Regions from separate parts of the Homo sapiens genome. Here region 2 is linked to region 1. The links are contacts of gene promoters, found by promoter capture Hi-C in blood cells and fetal thymus (Javierre and others, 2016). All regions are on one chromosome and are shown on one strand. Each heading gives the region's core, a stretch centred on a gene start or on the middle of the fragment in contact. The rest is flanking DNA. Distances are from core to core; before and after follow the strand shown.

Evidence for each region. Contacts are between HindIII fragments. The CHiCAGO score rates a contact against its expected background, and 5 or more counts as called.
Region 2: a contact is called between a fragment that was not itself captured here and the fragment with the promoter of PRR16 in region 1, in 1 of 17 cell types (non-activated CD4 T cells). The highest score is 6.0, in non-activated CD4 T cells.

What each region holds. Positions count from the first base shown.
Region 1 is chr5:120,462,385-120,468,553 of GRCh38, forward strand. PRR16 (proline rich 16) reads left to right here and starts at 1,916. Exons shown (of 2, transcript NM_001300783.2): 1 at 1,916-2,261. The coding sequence starts at 2,103. RefSeq lists a silencer at 1,835-1,884 and an enhancer at 2,290-2,791. The HindIII fragment of the contact is 2,017 bases long and covers 736-2,752 here.
Region 2 is chr5:117,454,373-117,460,090 of GRCh38, forward strand. LOC124900192 reads left to right here and starts at 577. Exons shown (of 2, transcript XM_047417986.1): 1 at 577-1,082. The coding sequence starts at 737. The region is part of intron 2 of LINC00992 (long intergenic non-protein coding RNA 992); the gene reads left to right. RefSeq lists an enhancer at 236-405. The HindIII fragment of the contact is 4,604 bases long and covers 431-5,034 here.

The DNA.
Region 1 (6,169 bases), core at 666-3,165:
CATGAGCCACTGTGCCTAGCCTGTTTTGTTTTTTTTTTTTTAATCTTTAGTGAATGAGATTCAGAGTAGCATGGACATCTTCTTATATTGTGGGAGGATTATTTTGTCACTGTGAGGGAAATCACAATTTCCTTTCCTCCTCTCCCATATCCTTGTCTAAAGTCACTTAACTTTGAGTTTGGCGGCTTTCTTACACACTTGCCTACTATTAAGAGTCAAAAATAATTCCAATCTAGAAGAATAGTACTTTCTCTTTTCCCCTACCATTAGCTTTTGCTAGTTTTGACAATTTTGGGGAGTCTGTAAACCTGATATAATTATTTTAATGTTATATTTTTTATAAAATAAAGAATTTGAGGAGAAAAAGGATGTTTTAAAAATCTAATTCTCCCTACCTCAGAGAACTCAAGCATATTACTTATTTCACACTTTTAATCATTTCTTCTCTTTTTCTTTTCTCCAGTTTGCATGCTGCAGACTTGTTCTTATAATCTCTTCTTAAGTCTTTCCAGCAGCATCTGCTTTTCACCTTTTCTCATTTCTTCCCCTGATTTTTCAATGCAGTTTTCAATGGTTTTCTTTTGACACCACTTTCAAATTTCAATTTTTTCTTCTGTTCTCTTTCTTCCTCTATATTCCACATATGACTTCCAAAGGTTTTGTAAAGATGAATTGTCCAGGATTAAGAGAGTGATTGATTAAGAGCCTACAGAACTGGGAAGAGGAGAGCTGCCAAGCTTTTCTTTATGTGTAGCACAGTGGAGCTACCCAGAGTGTGAGAAGCAAGAAACAGAGAGCCTTGCTAAGGCACGACGAAAAGGGGAAGCCTATTAAAAGAATGATCTGGAGGAGTGTGCAGTGAAGAAAATAAAGTAGAGCCAGCCTGCTGGGTCAGTAGCTAATAGCCCATGGGTTTACAACTAAGGAAGTTAAAATTCTAGCTAATGAGAATTGTAGACACCTACTGAGAGTGAACCGAAGGCTTCCTATTAACTTCCCTTCTTGGGTCTTTTTGACAGAACAGTCAGAAAGTTGTTTCCTATTTGTTTAGTAGCAAAAGAGTTGAAATGGAGGTTTAAAAAATGATGAAAGAGAAGTTGGAGGCAATCTCTTACTCAGCTCCTTCACGAGGTCCAAATACGATGTCTCCCCCACTCCACTCAAAATGTAAATCAGCATAGGTCACAAAAAGAGGAAGGACAGTTAAAAAAAAAAAAAAGAGTTGGGCCAAATAAGACATACAGCCAAGATGACTGAGACAATCAGAGAGGATTTGGGGTGTGGGGACTTCAAATTAATAAATCCGGTATTAGCTTTGTGGAATTAGCAGGATTAGGGTACCTCTTTCAAGAACACTGGTTGAATTTCATGGTTTCAATAGATGACCATTAGCTGTTATGTGCACCCCCCCCCCCCTTTTTTCTTGCAGAAGTTAAGAAGTCTGCTTAACTCGCAGGTCACCAAGAGATTGATTAAAGGCCTCTGGACATCATTTGGGTTTGGATAAATCTGTAGGGCCACTTTACAGACTGTCTCCAACTCCTGATCCCACTGTGGTTCTTTCTGAATTGATCCAGGTCCCTGCTAGCAAGTGAAGCAGAAAGAATCCAGGCTAGTTGTGAGATGACATACAGCAAGCAGGCTGAGATGATGGGGACATTTCAGAACCAAGAGGAGGGGGCGGGCAGGACACGGACTTGTCTCCCCCACCTTGATGCCAAGGTGGCATCTGGGAGATATCTCGAAGGGCAACGTCGAGGGGACTGCAAGCGTCAACCCTGGCGCGGCAGCACGGCGCCCCTCTCCGCGGGCGGGGAGCGAGCGCGTGTGCGCGAGAGCGCCGGGCGGCGGCGGGAGGAGGCGCAGGCGCGCTGCTCGCCCGTCTGCAGCCCCGAGCCGAGCGCCGCGTCTCGGGAGTTGATGGCAGCACCACTGTGCGGCCGCCCGGCCGAGCGCGGAGCGCAGCCACTCGCCGCTGCCCAGGGAGCGCCCAAGATGTGGGGGGACCGGGGCGGCAGCGGCCGTAGCAGCGCCAGGGACGGGGGCACGCAGCAGCCTCCGCTCGCCCGCCTGTCCTGACCTGCCTCGCTTGCCCCCAAAGAATGTCAGCCAAGTCCAAGGGGAACCCCTCCTCGTCCTGTCCAGCCGAGGGACCGCCGGCAGCCTCCAAAACCAAGGTGAAGGAACAGATCAAGATCATCGTGGAGGATTTGGAATTAGTCCTGGGCGACCTGAAGGACGTGGCCAAGGAACTTAAGGAGGTGAGAGGCGCAGGGGTGGGGAGGGAGTTCGGCACCCTTCGACCCCTCCGGGGTCCCCTTTCCGATTTTCAGCAGGGACAGCCAGATTTCCAAACTCCTGGGAAACTACAGAAAAGGCGCCTGCAGACGGACTTTCTTTGCTCCTGGAGTCCTGAGAGGAGTTGTTGTTGCACTTTTTAATTTTTTTTTTTAATCAGGAAGAAATCAACTAGTGTTTTAATCGATGGACCTGGGCTGGTGGGAGGGATGAACGCACGCGTGTCTCTGAATCTGTGTGTGTGACGACGGGGGAGAGGGTTAGCTGGGGGTGTGTCGGCAGAGGAAGTCGTGAGCAGCCCGGCTGGAGCGTGCAAGATGCTCCTCTCCTGCCCTATTGCTTCCCCAGAGTCCTTTGGCAAGTCCGCTGCCTATCTGTCAGCCTCCCCAAGTCAGGGCTGAAGAGGGGCCGGGTTCTGGGCCCTGGGCCAGATCAGGGAGGGCAGCCTGGAGGAAGCTTGGCTCAGACTACCCTCCCTGTCTCTCGAGCCTCGCTGTAGGGAAGGCGACCCGGGCTGCTGGCAGCCTTGGGGCTAAGGAGGGGGTCTGGGACTTTCTCACTTTCTCAGTTTCTGAAGCATCCCCTGCTCTCCTCCGAACGTCGTTACCAGTAACTCTGGGCCTTCCCGCCACCCTACCTCTGCTTCCTTCCTTCCACCCTGTCGCCACTTGGCATTGAACCCGAGAAGCAGGACGCGCAGGAGAGTGTATGTGTGGCCGGGGTCTTGCCATTGGCGTCCTGGCTCTCTGCAGCTGGGACTGCTTCGGTTCTTCCCCGCTTTTCCTATCCCACTTCGGTTCAGCCCTACTCCCGCCCGCCCCTAGCCCCAGGTGATCCAGATGGAAAGAAGCAGAGAAGGTGTCAGGGCTGAGGCTGCGTAACTCAGGCGGCGGCTCCGGGCGGGGGCGGGGGCCGGGCTGGGAGGGGTGGGGTCTCCCGAGCCAGGCTGGCTGCCGGCGGCGTCGCGGAGCTGGTAGCAGAGTCCCAGCGCGCCGCTCACTACTGAATGGGGTCCTGGTGCGGTTCTCGGTGAGGGAGTCCGCAGCTCCGCTGCGTGAGAGCTAAGACTAGAACTTCGAAGGTGGCGGTGGCTGCAGCGGGAAAAGGGGTGGGGCGTAGTCTAGGTCCAAAATTGTAATCCTGTTTCTGAAGCCAACGGGGAGGAGACTGAGGGTTGTTTGGATGACTGGCCTCTAGAGATTAACCTCCTGTATTCAATTTCCAAACCAAATTTCAAGAGCCCCCTCGTCTTCCTCCCCTTCCCCCGTTACCTCTATGAACTGAACTCTGCATTTGTTACCTAATGCAAGTCTGTTAAAATGGGCCATTCGTCACCAGGGTTAAGTTTGCCAGTGGTAAATGTCGTTCCTGTAGGTTACTCCACAGACAGAACATAATTAGTACTGAGGTCCTGAGAGTGGCTGTTAGTATACATAGATTCAGGGATAAAACTTGTTCGTGTTTTCAGGGTTTCTGTAGGATTATTGCTTCACAACTGGTTGACAGATGGTGGGGTTATGCATTGAAATTCAATTCTAAAAATGCTGTCCCTTTCTTTGTTATTCTTTTATATGACATCTTTGGTAGACTGTGTTTTCATCTGAAACATGGCGTTTTAAAAAATGAAATTGGGCATGTTCCTTTCGGCAGAATTGTGCTTAATAGTTGGTGAGGTTTCTATGGGCGATGTGGAAAACCTACAGCGGCACAGAAACGTATTTACTGTTTTCATGAGGCTGAGACTAAAAGAAAGGTAGTTAAACAGAATTCTGCATCTGTGAGCCATACTTCCTTATGTTTTAATGTCAGTCCACTCACTTTTTTTGCACAGAATAAATGACAAGAAACTGCACATGGTCCTGGTTTTGCTTTGCATCATTATTTATGGACATTTAGAGATTAAGTAGTGAAATCTTCAACCTCCCTGTGGTTATTGGTTAGAATCACAAAAATGTAAGTCAGGAAATCTGTTGATACCACTTTCTGTGTCTTCATTACTGAAGATTTTTTAAGGTTAAAAAAAAGGTTGTTTATAAGAGGAATAAAAAGCAGAGATAATGTACAACCCAGTAGATGAAACTATCTGACAGATCTAGAGATACAATTTTGACTCAACATTTTGGAAGATTTGTTTGTCTTAAGGATCTGTTTGAGTAAAAATCTCACCATGAAACTGAAATTTATGACATAAATAATGTGATGTGATTGTTAATTACTTTTGTGTGGGTATCATCATCCTAGATTTGCACAAGAAAATGTACCTACAATGGCCAAATCCCAAAACATCGGCTATTCATAGAATATGAATGAAAATATTTTGAGAACAAAGTATTTATAGGGTATGTTTAACCTATGACATCTTGCAGTTGTCCAGCATGTATCTTTTTAGGATAATCCTGCATATGTGAGTGAACATGTCTTTGGTATAGTTTTGGATAAAGAAATAACAAAACTTTGTACATTACAAAGCTTGTTGGTTGCTGTACATGAATGTTGCTATTCATCATATTCAGTATTCTGGCAGCTTAAAATTAGTACGTGTTAAATATAAACTGCTATATTTAGAATTCTAATTCCTTTATTGGCAATGCTATGCTTTTAGACCATAATATATTTTAATATAAATTATCGGCGAGCTCTTCTTAACTTGCAACAGAAATTAAAAATAAAAAAGTAGTTATGACTATATCACTATGGCAGTCATCATATAGTATTTATTTTTTCTTTCTGCTTTTAAAAAATATCTAGTTAAAATGCAATCTTCTTTAATTCTGTTCTTTGTTTTTGTGTAATTTCTGCACCAACAATATTAAACTTTGGTTTGAGGTTACTCTGAAATTGCTTTTCTTCATAGAAGTTTTCTGGGCTTAAGTCATCTGAAAACTCAGGTAGTAGGATAGAATCAAACATAATAGTAATTGCTTGAAACACTTTAATAAGTAGTGACAAAACTCTAGTCTGCTCAGCAAGAAGAGTTGTTATTTTGGGTATCTGTTTTATGATTATTTAGTTATAATTACTTAATCAGTTATAATTGGATTATATATTAGAAGCAGAGGAACAGGCTTTCTAGAAAGTCAAAGAGCAGCCTTATTCTACTCTCAGAATTTAGTAAAATCTCAAATAATTTGACTTTTCAGAAATAATATGGGTCCTTTTGTTTTCTATGCTATTAATATATTGGAAAAGCCTTAAATATAATTCAGTATACTTATTGAGCACCTACCATGTTCCAAGTACTATAACACCTTTTAAATTGCTACCAAGATGAATAAGGCATAGTTTCTGGTCTCAGTGAGCTCCAAAGGTTAGTTAGGGATATATTTATCCTGTCTTCCAACATCAGCAGTATAAAAAGACATTGTGGCCTTTAGTGGCCACTCTCACTGCAGGCTTGGGGAAATCGAGAATTGAGAATGAGAGTGAGTATATGTTGATTTATAAAATGATGTGTGCTGCATACTTAGTAGTATGGCAAGTCTTTGATGAAGAAATAAGCTTAAAAAGATGAAAATATATGAATTTTAAGAAATTTACAGTTGACTTAGATTGTCATGGTTAACATAAATGGATCAATACCATATACAGGAGATTACATATTCAAATGTTGTAACTAAATACTGAAGATTTCCATGAAAGCTAAGTCTTTTGGAGAAATGGAGAGTTAAAAAGGAAGATTTTGAATTCTTCTTTTTCTTAATGTAAATAGGGTTTTAAGAGGTAGTCACAGGTAAAAGGAAATAGGTTTGGACTACAAGAGTAATCCATGTTGCATTTTTCTACACATTGAAAAAAAAGAAGAAAATAGTGGTGAAACTCTAGAGTTTTAGTGATAAAATTAACCATAACTGGTAGAGTAGGTGTGAGTGAT
Region 2 (5,718 bases), core at 1,483-3,982, 3.0 Mb before region 1:
TAGGTTGTCTGTTTACAGTGTTGAGTATTTATTTTGCTGTGCAGAAGCTTTTCAGTTTAATTAAGTCCCATTTGTCTTTTCTTGTTTTTGTTGCATTTGCTTTTGAGGTCTTAGTCATAAATTATTTGCCCAGGCCAATGTCCAGAAGAGTTTTTCTTAGGTTTTCTTCTAGAATTTTTATAGATTGAGGTCTTACTTTTAAGTCCTGATATGGCTTGGCTGTGTCCCCACCCATGTCTCATCTTGAAATGTAGCTCCCATAATTCCCACGTGTCATGGGAGGGACCCAGTAGGAGGTAACTGAATCATGCGGGCAAGGTCTTTTCCTTGGTGTGGTGAATTTCTCAAATGGTGGTTGTAGTAGTGACATACTGGGCACGTGAGTAAATGCTCAGTCTCCTATAGAGACAGGCAGGTGGAGGCCTCAAGAAGCTTATCTCATTTCCATGCGCTGTGCTCTGGAGTCAGATTTTGTATCGGGTTGTGCAGTTCAACCTCCCGGCCAGTAGGTGGCACTAGTAAGTAAGAACTGGCTGTGGCAGAAACAGGTAAGTATAGGCTTAATCTTTATTTTCTAGGAGGAGCTCGCTGTTACCTGAAGGGATGGACTGGTCGGTGGAATGTCCGGTGCCGTGAGTTACCTGCTCAGCCCTGGAGCAGGGGTCAAAGCTGGGCGGAGCTGGACAGCCAGTCTCAGCCTCAGGTACTCCAGTGACAAGCAGCAGCACCAGTGCTGATGAGGGTAGCAGGGAAAACTGGTGAAATGTGCCGAGGTCTCTCCAGAGGTGGTAGGCGGTTGCGCCAGCTTCACATCCTGGATAGGCAGGAACGTTTCCCTATCATACTCCTGTCCCGGGTCTCATGTGTCTCAGTTCAAACAGACACTGCCGTCTATCTTCAAGCTGCAATGAAGCTGAGAGCCACAGAAAACACCTGTACCATGGTTTCAGGGAGGAGTCTCTTCCCTCAGCCGAAAACAGACAGCTTTGCTGGTCATCTGTTCTCCACTGCGAGGACGCTGCCACTCAGTGTGGAGAGAGGAAGGGGTTCTGCCTATGGTGCAAGAAGGTCGGACTCGGCAGGTAGGCACACCACCAATATCATTGTAGCTGCTCCTGATAGTCCTGTATTGGCTGTCCACAGGCATCCACGGCTTTGTCTGCAGCAGTGGGCAGTCGGGAAGGAGAAATCCTCCTCTCTACTACTGTGCCTGAGCACTGGGGCTGCCTGACCACTGGGGCTAAAAAACACTTCCCCCCAGAGCACTGAGCATGGTGCCCATTTCTCTGCTGGAAGGGGTGCTGTCACCCTCAGTCCCCAAGCAGGAAACTCTTGGGCACGGGAGAGCATACGCTCTGGCTTCGTTTGTCCCATGGGGCACTCCCTAGGCGCGCTGCACTCTCCCTTCCCCTAGGGGCAGCATACCCTGAGGTTCAGACCACCGGGAATTCTGCAGCTACCTTAGGTACATCTGGCCCCATGTGTGGCTGCTGCAATCTAAGCAGGTGCTAGGGAATGTCTGCGGGGGATCTGGTGATGTGGAGACACGAAGGCTGAGATTTTCTGGGCAGGACAGAGGACCACAATGATGCACACTCAATATGGCGCTTACCACTGCAGCTCAGGTCTGGGGAGAGGGTGAGCAACTTTACACAAGCTGGTAGCCTGGTGCAATGCCCTCAGTAAATTAACAAATCACCACCCACACCGGTCCTTGGGCTAGGGCCAGCAAAGGAGCTCTCCTACAGCTCGGAAACCCAGTCTGCCACAGCTGTGAGTGGAACGCAAAACACCGCACCTACCCTTTCCACCAGACTCCAAGTTCCTTGGGGTTCAATCTCTGCCACACTCTTCCTTCTTTTTTCTGTGCCCTAGCTTCTTTCTGTGAGTTCTCCAATAGGTTCTGGCACTCTCTCCTTAATCTTCTATTCAACTTACGATTATTCATCTGTAACTTTGGTTCTTTCTGAGGAGAACTGGCATCTGACATCTCAACTCAGCCATCCTGAGAGGGCAGAATTTTGATAAAATTAATAACACTATTTTCTCCCTTTACTCTGCATCTCAAGAGAATGAAGCGGAGTTATGACTTTTTCAACAGAATCATAAACTTCCGTACGCCATTGAGGAATAAGGAGCATATTCCTTCAGCACCAGATTTACCTTTCTTCTTAGTGGCCTGATTTTGATGCTGCTTTTTTGGATTAAAAAAAAAAATCATTCACTTTGCAAATGGGATAATGAAAAGTATACACCTCAATTTCTTTTTGGGATTCAGTGGATCTTAAGAGAAATCAAGTTTCGATGTGATCAATGCCCCAGAAAACAGAGGTGCACTTACAGGGACATGCTAATGCTCTTGGTGATCCTTCTGTAAGATGCGAATGGTCATTTATTCCTCTCTTGTCTGAAAAGTCCTTCCTTAGGTGCCTAAATTACTCTTAGAGGTGCATCGCCAGCCCAGGAGAAACAGACTTCTGAGACAAGGCTATCTTTTGTTCTGTAATTTAGGGGATGTTTTGAAAAAGCCCCTGAAGTGAAATGTTCCCTTAACCTGCTCACAACATTGTCTTACATTTTTCATTAAAATGATTTTCTTCAACATAAGTTTTGATTTCCAGGAGGCTAGTGTTACAGTTTTAAGTGACTTTCTTTGAATGTCCAAAAACGCTTTAAGTGGAAAAACAGATGTTTTAGTTCTTTCTGTTGAAACCACCAACCAAACACTATTCAGATCAATGCATCTTCTCTAAGAATTCTATATTTAGCCCATTATTATGCATCGGGGCATGCATTAAAATCTTTTTCTTCCATTTTCAGACTATTCATATTTTAGGATTCTGGACTAAAACGTAAACCTATCTTGTTTTCATACTTCCACGTGCTTCTGTTATAAATAAACATGTCCCTGTTGTCAGTTTCAGCTCCACTCTACAGCTTATCTGTGGCTGACCCCCTCCACCTCTGACTTATTGGATCCTCATGAGGTCTCCACATCTTGATTTCTGAATAAGGCCTATCCCAAAAGATCCATCAGTAGTTATGTCATTGCTAACTCACAGTTACATCCCTAAAGTTCATGCCAACAAAATAAGCAATTGGATAAAATTATACTGGGGGATGGAGTAGAAAGCAAGTCCATTGGGATTTTACATTTTAGAAATGTGAAAGTAAAAAAAAGAGAAAATGTTGTCAATTGGTCGTAAGAATGGGACAGACTAAACAACACAAATGTCATTTAATCTTCTTTAAAAATAATCCATTTATGTTATACGCATTTTCATGAGTTTTGATATATGACTTTTAATGGCAATTTTTAGTAGTTTTAAAATATTCATCTAGCCTAAGTAGATTATGCTTGATTTGATCACTTCTATATTTGTGGTTGTATTGATTTTCTTCAGTTTCTTAAAGATAAAATTTATTGCAATAAAAATCTAGTTCTGCATATAAGTAGTCCTCTTCTGTGGAATTATGACTTTAGGAAATATATTCCCAAAGGTGGAATTACTGACTCAAATTGGATAAACATTTTATCTCTTACTACATATTGTTTCTTATAAAGCAGACAGCGGTGTTCAACTGTATTAGTTTCACTACAGTCTCACAAACTTTGAATGTTTTTATTTAAGCAATTGTTTTATCCATAGAAGAAGAATACAGTGTGTCCTGAAAAAAAAAATTTATTTTTTTATTTCTTCAATAATGGACAGAATGCACGTTTGCCATGTTTTTATAATCACTGCTTATATAAACTGTTTGTTCATATCCTTTGCCTTATTTAATATGAAAAGGAAGACTCTAAAAATACTGTAATAATCACAATATAAACACTTTGGAAATCCTGTCTGATGCAAATGTTTTCCTAACATTATTTTTTTCTTAGGCGCTTTCGTTTGTATGAAATTTTTATTATTTTATATATGTTCATGTTATCCTGTCAATAATTTCTTTCTATTTTTTAATCTCTGCTCTTCCTCACTGCTAGAGATTGGCATGCCCTTGGATGAGTTCTGTATTTATCATCTCTTCTATATCTGTTGTCATTTATAGGTGATTTCACTTGCATCTCACCCCTTTGGCTTTAAGTATCATTTATATGCAGATGATTTTTATATTTTTATGCCCTGACTCTACTTCTCCCCTGAGTTTCACACACATGTCCAACCAGCTACTCTTCGTCTCTACTTATACGTTTATCTCAAACTTAAGATATCTAAAGTAGAATTTTTGATTCCGTTCTCTAAACCTGTTTCTCCCCACTCTATCTCATCTTAGAAAATAGGTCTATACCTATTTTTGTAAGTCAAAATCTAGCATTGGTTTGATTTCATTCTTTCCCTCAACTTCACCTCTAATCGTCAATAAAGACTTTCATATTACTTCCATTTTTCCCCAACTCCATACTAGCTGAAACACCATCATTGTCTACCTAGGATACCAAAAGAATGACAATCTGGCCACCCTGCTTCAACTCTTGTCCCCTAAAATATGCAAGCAGATAGCGGAGTCAACCCTTTTACTTCCATAGATCAAATCACATGATCCTTCTGTGTAAAACTTTCCAATGTCTTCTCACCCCATGTAGAAAGCAATCCAAATCTCTTGCCCTGGCCATCCAAGGTCTAGATAGCTACACATTATGAAGCTACACTTACCTCTTAATTCATGCAATTTTAGTTCTTGTTCATTTCTCTGTACTCACATGGCACTTTGTTCTGTCCATAAAGCATGAAAAATTTGTTCTTACCCCAAGCCTTTACTCTTGCTGGACTCTGCATAAAATGCTTGTCTTTTTGATATGTGTACGACTGCCTCCTTTTTGTCACTCAAATCACAGTTCAAATATCACCTCCGTCAATTTTAATTTTGAAAGAGACTTTCTCAGAGCACTCAGCAAAAAAAAAAAAAAAAAAAAAGCTCCCAAGACACTATCTATATAGTATCATCCTATTTTGTTTTAGTAATAACACTTATTGTTTTTCTTTCTTTAACTTGTCAGTTGTTTATTTTCTATTTCACGGAAATAATAGAAGCTTCAGGAGAATCATTATCTGGCATCTCTAGCATCTTAAATCATGGAAGTAATTCAATCAACATCTGTTTGATGAATTAATGAATGAGGTTTTTTTTTTTTTCTGCTATAAATCTGAGAGTGTTATTTTGTGATGAATCCAGACACTGGTAAACTTTTTTTATTTTCTTGTTTTTCTCCACAATTTCTTTCTTAATTAAATTTTAATTTTTTGAATCAGAAATTTATTTGCATGGTTCAAGAAATTGAAGCTATAAAAAGCAGTATATTCATATCTTTCTCCCCTCCCTCTTTCTTGTCTCTTTAGTTTCATCACTCAAACAGGGGAACAACTGTTTTCAGCTTCTTACAGCACTTCCAAAGTTTGTCTATATAAAAATGACTAAAAATAAATATTTTTATTTTCTACCTTCTTTGTAAGCACTGAGGTTTCTTAACGTAAAAGCTGTGTTAACTTAGATTTTTCTTTCATCAATCATACATCCTGGATATCTTAGGAGAATTCTCATTATTTCTATAGCTATGTCACATTTTCATTGAGTAGATATATTATAATTAACATAGCCAATTCTTGTCCCCATCAATGCATATATGATTATTCCATTATTTTACATTTAATAATAATGCTGCTATGAATAACCTTGTACATACCTCATTATGCACATACATATGTCTCTAGGATA